2 separate regions of the Homo sapiens genome follow, and region 2 is linked to region 1. The links are contacts of gene promoters, found by promoter capture Hi-C in blood cells and fetal thymus (Javierre and others, 2016). All regions are on one chromosome and are shown on one strand. The core of a region is centred on a gene start or on the middle of the fragment in contact, and the rest is flanking DNA. Distances in the headings are between cores, read along the strand shown.

Evidence for each region. The method cuts DNA at HindIII sites, captures the fragments that hold promoters and counts their contacts. A CHiCAGO score of 5 or more calls a contact.
Region 2: a contact is called between the fragment with the promoter of ACBD6 here and the fragment with the promoter of TPR in region 1, in 2 of 17 cell types (total CD4 T cells and total CD8 T cells). The highest score is 11.7, in total CD4 T cells.

What each region holds. Positions count from the first base shown.
Region 1 is chr1:186,373,331-186,377,646 of GRCh38, forward strand. It overlaps TPR (translocated promoter region, nuclear basket protein), which reads right to left and starts at 1,923. Exons shown (of 51, transcript NM_003292.3): 1 at 1,548-1,923; 2 at 29-133. The coding sequence starts at 1,698. ODR4 (odr-4 GPCR localization factor homolog) reads left to right here and starts at 2,508. Exons shown (of 14, transcript NM_017847.6): 1 at 2,508-2,644. RefSeq lists a silencer at 1,058-1,107 and enhancers at 1,668-1,967, 2,128-2,177, 2,348-2,537. The HindIII fragment of the contact is 6,872 bases long and covers 53-4,316 here.
Region 2 is chr1:180,500,161-180,504,476 of GRCh38, forward strand. It overlaps ACBD6 (acyl-CoA binding domain containing 6), which reads right to left and starts at 2,417. Exons shown (of 8, transcript NM_032360.4): 1 at 1,885-2,417. The coding sequence starts at 2,106. RefSeq lists enhancers at 824-1,339, 1,340-1,855, 1,963-2,463, 1,985-2,174 and a silencer at 2,385-2,484. The HindIII fragment of the contact is 1,534 bases long and covers 1,781-3,314 here.

The DNA.
Region 1 (4,316 bases), core at 673-3,172:
TACTTACAAAGATGAATTAAATACTTACTGAGTTTCTCTAGCTCAAGCCGCAAGCTTTGACACTCTCGGGTTTCATTCACAAGTCTCTCCTGACTGTGGGACAACCTCTTTTCTATTTCAAAATACTGTTGTTCTACAGCAGACAAGCAAAAAACAAAAAACAAAATCAAACACATGTACATACATTGTGAATACTGTTATTTATTTCTAATAACCTTGATTTTAAAACTTAAGATACAGTATTAGAATTGTGCTCCACATAAGAGAATCTGAGTAAAGATAAATAGACTGAGCACTGAAAAGGACTTAAAGCATTTCCAAACGACTTACATGACAAAAAATAAAAAATAAAAATAAGGCCTAAAAGGGGCTTTACAAATCAATGTCTTCAAGGCAGGTAACCTCATTTATCTTAGTATTTTCTCCAGACATCAGTAAACTGCTTAATAAATAAAGTATTTATTACACGAGAAAAAATTGTTTAGACAAAAAAAAACTCCTTTGTTTTAAAAGACTTCTTTTATAGTAGTCAAGATATTACCTGAAAGCATAAAACTACTAAATATATGTAAAAGTAAATGTGTAAACTTTCCAAGGGAAGGGATTGAATATCATGTTCAGCATAGTATCAGGAACATGTAAGACATTCAATATTTATGGTGCAAATTAATAAATAGAATGCAATGTACTATACTCAGCTCTGGGATCAGAGAACTAATTTTCAAGGTCAATTCTGCTTGACAGTTACACTTTTTTTGAAGTAAAAACTTGTTCAGAATTTCCAGTCAACTTAGCAAGAACAGTATGAACCTCCCCAAACAAATGGTAAACCAAAACACATTAACGGGAAGTTTGTATTTTACTAATGGTAATGACTATATTCTTCATATTTTTTTCAAGGATGTTCAAGCCATTATTGTCAGTAACTTTCTTACTTAAAGGCCTACTTTAGGTAATTACAAGAAAATTTTAATGTTTTCTATCAAACTCCAACTTTTTAAGAGAAATCAAGATATATTAAATTTATGTACTGCACATTCACTGTGTTTCCAGCGCTCTTATGCACCTAATATTCATTTTTGTAAACATCTGATTCGTTCTGGAGCCACGGGACGACGCACACACTAAGAACAAGTGCACAGAGTGGTCAATTTGGCAAAGGCCTAGAATGCAGGTGCCTAGAAAATAGGGCGGAGCCACTATCAGTTGAAGTGCAACAAAACATATAAGGTACTCTAGGCTTAGAGAGATGGGTTCGCAGACTCTATCAAGTCTGTTTCCCGTCTGCCGGACGAAGGAAAATAAGCGTCCCTGTATGAGCCTACCCTAACTACAAAGAAAATGCTACTGAACTTAGATTCAGATTTTTTTTTCAAAGGCTTCTTATCAAACTGTAAGGAGCAGGAAAGCGAAGGCTCAGGATATCCACAGAGCCCAGGAAGTGAGGTTAACAGAGCGGTACCCAGTGCCAACTTGATGGGGGAAGACCAGACCCAAAGGGCGGGAGTCGAGCCCAAAACCAAGGACGGAAAGAGCATCTCACTTACCGCTCTCCACCTTAAATTTCTCATGCCGCCCCTTCAGGCCATCGATCTCGGATTGCTGATCAGCAAGGAACTTTTCAAGTTTGTTCTGGACAGACTTGGGCAGCTTGTTCAGCTCCGTGCGCTCCAGGACTTGCTGCAACACCGCCGCCATGTCGGTGGGGCCAGGGACCCCAGTGGCAGCGGCCGACGGGGTAGAAGCGGAGAAGAAAGGCGAAGACCAGCAGGACCCAGACGCCTGGGCCGCCGCCTCTATCACCTCGCTCGGTGGCTCGCGCGCGCCCGCCCGCCGGAGACTCCCGCGGCGGGACCCTGGGAAATCGAGTCCACCCTCAGCGGCAGCGTTTCAGCAACAGCACCTCACCGCCCGCGACCGAAGTGCGCGCGCAGCCGTTGGAAGCTACGAACCCTGGGAACCCGAGCTCAGAGGCTATCCCTGATCCTCTTGCGCACCCAATTTTCCGGCTTCCAGCTCCACCCACTTCAGGCCTTGTAGGGCTCTGGGAAATGTAGTGTTTTTCTCATTCTTTTCCGGGAGCCCAATGCTGCACCGCCCTCTCAGCTTCCGTTTTTCTCCCCGCTCCCCTGGCTCTCCTATCTCGGCCCCGTAACCGCTGTCCGCACGGTGGCGCCACATACGTACTCGTCACCCCTTGGCCCTCCCTGAAGAGCTGGTGACCTTACCGTCAAAGCCCCGGGATGCCATGGATCGTCCTCGTTGGCGGCTTCTGGACACTGAGCCACTAGAGGGCATCGGTCCCGGTAGGGCCGGACGGCAGGCTCCGGGATACCGCCACGCTCTCTATGGCGCCCAGAAGGGGGCGGGGTGGCGACCGCAGTCGCTTTGGCTGAGGCTCTGCGGGGAAGGGAGGGGGGGCTTTTACGTCATCAATCTGCGCCACCTGACTCCCAAGTCCCTGGCTTTGGAGTGGGAAGTGAGGTGTGGGAAGTAGGTCGCTTTCTGATGAATTCAGTGGCAGTGAATTGAGACCGGAGGGAATCTGGCCCCTAGAGGCTGGTACTTGGGCCCGAAACCCCCATCTCCGGCGGAGAGACCGTCCGAGGTAATTGTCTGCCACGAGTGCACATTCTGAAAACAGGTAAGTCAGCCTAAGTGTAGTGTGTGTGTGTGTGTGTGTGTGTGTGTGCTCTCTTTTCAAGAGAAAAAGGAAGGGACAGTGTTGGAACCATATGGACAGTCACTCCGGCACACACTTCTGACGAACTTACCTTGTGTGAAACGGCGTACCTAAATGGTTTTTGGTGGTGGGGAGGTGGCACTGAGTGATTCAGTACCCGGGAATTTAAGGACCCGGGTTAATTCTTCAGGAGGAGAATTAAAAGAAACCGGTAGCACTTTGAGTGTAGCCTATGTTTTAAATTTTTCGTTGCAGAAACGGTTACCTAACATTATATTGTTTTTAAAATTGAAAACTGTTGTAACTGAAGTTTTTAAACACATTGTTAATTTCTACAGTAACAGAACTTGTATGGTTCCAGATCATAATTCTGTAGTTTTAAAGCTCAATCCGTAGATTGTTTCGTGTTTACTCTTATGAAAGAATTTGTTAAATTATTCATTGTAAATAATGCATTCCCAGTGTCGTCTCTCTGCAGTTCCCACAGTCGTGGGCCTTCTGTGAATTGGTGATTTAGTTCTTATATGAAATTTATTCTTTTTCTCTAGTTCTTACTTTTGAATCATGTTGTGAAGCCGTCTAAGAAATATAAATGGAAGCATTTTATGATATTTTGTAATAACTAAGGAAAAATAAATCAACAGCGGAGCTTAAGGTTGATTTTTCCCCAAAAATATTTTTTAGATAAGCATTGTAATTAAAGTTGCTGGTATATGAAGTATTATGCTATGTCCTAAGCCCACAGTATTATCATACTGTTGATCTGTCATTTGGGAAATGTAGATTTTTCTGTACTTAGATTCACAGAATCCTAAAATTAGATAGGTTTTCAGATCTGCTAGGATTCAAATGCTTTATTTTATAGATTAGGAAACCAGAGCCCAGAAAGGTTGAGTTGTGTCAGTCACAGTGCTTGGACCACAAAGGCTTTGGCTGATATACAACATTTCTGGAAAATTATGACCCTATAAGGCAAAATACAGTTGTCCCTTGGTATCCGTGGGGCATTGGTTCCAGGACCCTCTCACCTGCCCACCCCATGGATATGAAATCCATGGATGCTCCAGTTCCTTATATTAAATGGTGTAGCATTTGCATATCTTAAATCATCTCTAAGTTACTTATAATACCTAATACAATGTAAATGCTATAGTTGTTATATTATATTGTTTAGGGAATAGTGACAAGAAAAAACATCTTTAATGATACAGATGTAATCATGCTTTAAAAAAATAATTTTTCAATCTGTGGTTGGTTGAATACATGGAAGTGGAAACCACAGATGTGGAAAGCTGACTATATACATTTTTAGTACTGCCTTTTATAAAGTATGGTTGACTACATTTAAAAATTTTGAAAGAGCACTAAAGAAAAATTTATCTGACATTCAATCAGATTTCATAATTGAATAGATTTTCATCTCCCTATTACATTCAGTTTCTTACACATTAATATGGCTACTAGGTGACACCCTAGAAGAAATAAGGTTAAAAGGTTAAATATAACTTTAGAATTACTTGTATTTGTTGCAAGAATTAAGAATTATTAGACCAGAAGGAAAAGGAGTATAATATGATATAGAGGAAAGTAGATACATAGAATTGCATACCTTAAGGCATTACTAAAAGGTAAA
Region 2 (4,316 bases), core at 1,167-3,666, 5.9 Mb before region 1:
ACCTCTCCCCCAACTTATTTTTCCTTTAACAAATACAGGGGAAAATACGTAACTATGTCAAGAGGCAAAAAGAAAAAAAGTTTACACATTTTTAATAAAACAAAATAGGCTATTATCCAGAATTTCCTTTCCTCTAGTGTTTCAAAGAGCTGTAATTTTCCTGAACTGTTATTTAACTCTTGTCAGCAATTTTTCAGGTATGTTCAAACCTAGACTCCTCAAGTACTTTAAGTCTCTTAAAGCAAATGTTGGCGGGGCGTGGTGGCTCACACCTGTAATCCCAGCACTTTGGGAGGCCAAGGCAGGCAGATCACCTAAGGTCAGGAGTTCAAGACCAGCCTGGCGAACATGATGAAACCCCGTCTCTTCTAAAAATACAAGAAATTAGTTGGGCATGGCGGCAGGCACCTGTAATCCCAGCTACTCGGGAGGCTGGGACAGGACAATCGCTTGAACCGGGGAGGTAGAGGTTGCAGTGAGCTAAGATCCAGCCACTGCACTCCAGCCTGGGCAACAGGAGCAAAACTCCATCTCAAAAAAAAAAAAAAAAAAGTGTCAGCCAGGTGCAGTGGCTCATGCCTGTAATCCCAGCACTTTGGGCAGGTGGATCGTCTGAGCTCAGGAGTTCAAGACCAGCCTGGGAAATGTGGTGAAACCCAGACCCTCTGTAAAAAAAAAAAAAAAAAAAAAAAGTGAGTGTCATGATGTTTTTGCTTCTCTGCAAAGTGTCATGATGTTTTTGCTTCTCTGCATTCTCTGTAGGCATTATACCCAAGTGTCTTGCACATAAAAGCTGCTGAACAAATATATGTTGCTTATGATAAAGCAATTATTTTCCTTCTGGTACCAACCAATGTCACCCTGAATTATAAATTAAACGTGTCTATACACCTCCCTATTTCCAGGTAAAGTTCACAGCCTTAGACTGAGTCAGGAGCTACAATCCAGTTCTGACTGATGTATTTGTATGACCCTAGGAAAGGTGCCTACTCTCTATGGCCTTCAGTTTCCTTTACTGTAAAAGAAGGGCATTATTTCCTCTGGTGTTCATAGCTCTAAAATTTTTAGATTGTATCAAACAGAAAGGAAGACATACTCAACGAAAACATAAATCAAAGATATTTAGGATTTTATAAAAATCACAATAAAAGTTGTAATACTGCATTTTGCATTGCATCACATTATTATTATTATTATTATTTGAGGTGGAGTTTCTTCGCTCTTGTTGCCCAGGCTGGAGTGCAATGGCGCACAATCTTCGCTCACCGCAACCTCCGCCTCCTCAGCCTCCCGAGTAGCTGGGATTACAGGCATGCGCCACCACGCTCGGCTAACTTAGTAGAGACGGGGTTTCTCCATGTTGGTCAGGCTGGTCTCCAACTCCCGACCTCAGGTGATCCTCCCGCCTCGGCCTCCCAAAGTGCTGGGATTACAGCCGTGAGCAACCACGCCCAGCCCTGCATCACATTATTACAATCCTATTATCTTTTTGGATCTCTATATAGTTTTATTAACTTTACCGTATTTACTTCCATGTGGCCCTCTGGGAAAGAGTAAATGAATGATATATCTTATTTTATCCTCATTTTGTAAAGGTTCTTGGGCTGGTAAAATGCAAGATCACTGAATAAGTCAGAGAAAAAAACACAAAAACAATGTCCAGTGTCCAGCTAAATAAACATCACTCCTAAGAAAGCAAACATCTTTTCCACGTTCAGGATGATGCTCATCCCCAGCAGATGGTCAAAAAAAAAAAAACAAAACAAAATACACATACACAAGCTTCATTACACCTAGCTATTAACCATACATGCTTGCTATCAGTTGTTGAGGAAGAAGGCTCCGTGTCTTTCTCCCCCATCCACCCTCTCCCTGCTACTTTACCTGTTTGTACCTGGCATACAGGTACAAGAGCTGCTCCCTGCTGGCCACCTGAATCAGGCCTTGCAGGTGCGCGGCAGCCTTCTCAAACAGCTCGGCCAGGCAACTGGTCTCCTCGATCTCAGGGCTATGGGGGAACTCCACCTCCCCGGAGTCGTCCCCTGAGCTCAGCTCTCCACCGCTGTCGCCGGTGATGGCCCCCGCGGGCAGGAATGATGAAGCCATGTCTCCTTGCTCGCTCCGTCCCTCTGTGTCCGGTCTGTCCTCCTTGGATTGGGTGTAAGGCCGGCTTGGAGGCCTGGCCCACCAGTCTGGGTCGCGAGCCTGAGCTCCAGTCGGACCCAAGCTCAGTCGCGGCGCGCTCCCTCACGTGACCCTGCTCCCTGCCCACTTCTACTCCCTGGGCGTGCAGAGCAGGCTCCTCGACCCTCTGCCGCTCTGCCCAGTCGACCCGGTCTCCTCCGGCTTCCCTCCGGCCAACAGCGCGCTCAGGCTCGCCTCAGGCCCCTCCAACGGAACAGGAGTCGAGGGGCAGTGAGGCCGGGATGCGTGCGAGCGCGGGGCGCGGCTGGCGCTGGGCCGTGGGGGCGGGGCGGCGTGCGTGCCAGCGGCGTGCGATTCTGTGAGGCCTGCTCTGCGCCGGCGGGGAAGCGCGGGCGACGCTACGCTGGACGTCCTTCCCTGCCGGAGGAGAGAAAGTGCCGTCAGCTGTAGGGGCGTCTTTTAATCGTTTCGCTGAAATTAGCAGTCCCGAGCTCCGGAGCCCGCCACCGGGATGGGCCCCCGGGGGTGGGGGAAGGAGGCCGTTTGTGTGGTAGTGTAGCGGTGAGAGCGGAGTCGCGGGAAACGCGAGGCTGAGGACTAAGGTTCCGCCTGCCCCAGATTGTGCGCCCCAAGCGCCTCCAAACAGCCCTGCGCGCGGATCTGTTGCGTGCGCGTTGGGCTCTGTGTTGAATAATGAAAAACTGCGAGATGGGGCTGTCCCGTCTTACTGTGTGACTGATGAGTGGAATCACTGCTCTGCGTGTTTCGCTCTCCACACCTTCGGAGCCCGCACCTCTCCGGGCCCTGAATAATAGGGTTTGGGGAGTTCGGGGCGCGCCTTAGCCCAGTTCTCATCCCGAGCTCTGTCTTTGACACTGTGCTTTGTAGACACTGTACAGTGAAACCAGAAGTACGGCACAGTTCGGCCCTAGAGGAATGCACAAAACTATTTTTTTAACTGTAACATTATGAGTGGTTATGTCCTAAATGTTAAACACAACGACGCACTATATATTCATTTAGTATTCAAAACAATGTAATAAGCACTATAAGAAGGGTACAAAGAAAGTGTTGTAAACAGTGGTTATTGACTGGGGTTAGGCTTGCGACGGGTGGACGGACGGCTGGACAGGATGAGGAAGCAATGAGAGAACACAGGAAGGTGAGAAAGCTTGCATCAGGATTCAACAGACATTCCTTAAGTCTCCAGAAAGTTCCACTGTTAGTCCCTGCTGTCAAGGTGCTCGCAATCCAGTCAAAGGGATGTTTAATGACCAAATTCTTGCAATTAAAAAGTGATTAAGAATAATGTATTGAGGACTTGATCATTACAACATAAGGTAGGTACTCTTATTTTACTACACATAGGAAATCAGCACAGAGTGGTTAAGTAACTTGTCAAAGGCTACACAGCTAGCAAATGGAGGAGCAAGGAAAAAGAAGTTAGCTTTCATGTGGGGTAATAATGGATGATGAACCCGACAAGTAGACTGAAGGAGATATAACATGGACTTTTATATCTTTGTTTCTAGAATTTTTATTAAAGTGAGAATTGAATATTATCAACGGCTTTTTTGGCATCTTTGGAGATTATCTGCTTTTCTCCTCTAGTCTTCGAAAGGAATTATATTAACAGTTTCTATTTTAATGAATTATATTAACAAAAATAAATTTGGGATTTAATGAATTATATAATAGCTAACATTGATAAATTAGTATGCATTATTTCAAAACCTCCTAGTTTTGAGCATTACTTCTGTTCTTGGAATAAACCCATTCTGGTCCTGGTTTGGTTTTTTTAAAAAATTTGTAGGTTCAGTTTGCTAATATTTTCATTATCTTTACAGTTCCATTTAAAGATGTCATTAACCTATAGTTTTCCTTTTCTATACTTTCTCAATTTTGTATCAAGGTAATAGAATCCTTGTAGAATGCATTTAGAAGTTTTCATCTTTTTCTGTATTCTGGAAGAGTTTACATAACATGGGAAAGAGAGCAACCAGAATTCTTTTACACTGCTGGTGTGAGCATAAATTGGTACAATCACTGTGGAAAAATGTTTGGCACTATCTACTAAAGCTGAACATAAATATACAACAATTCGACTCCTCCCCAGCGGGAATATATACATGGCATTCACCAAAAACATGTACGAGAACATTCATAGCAGC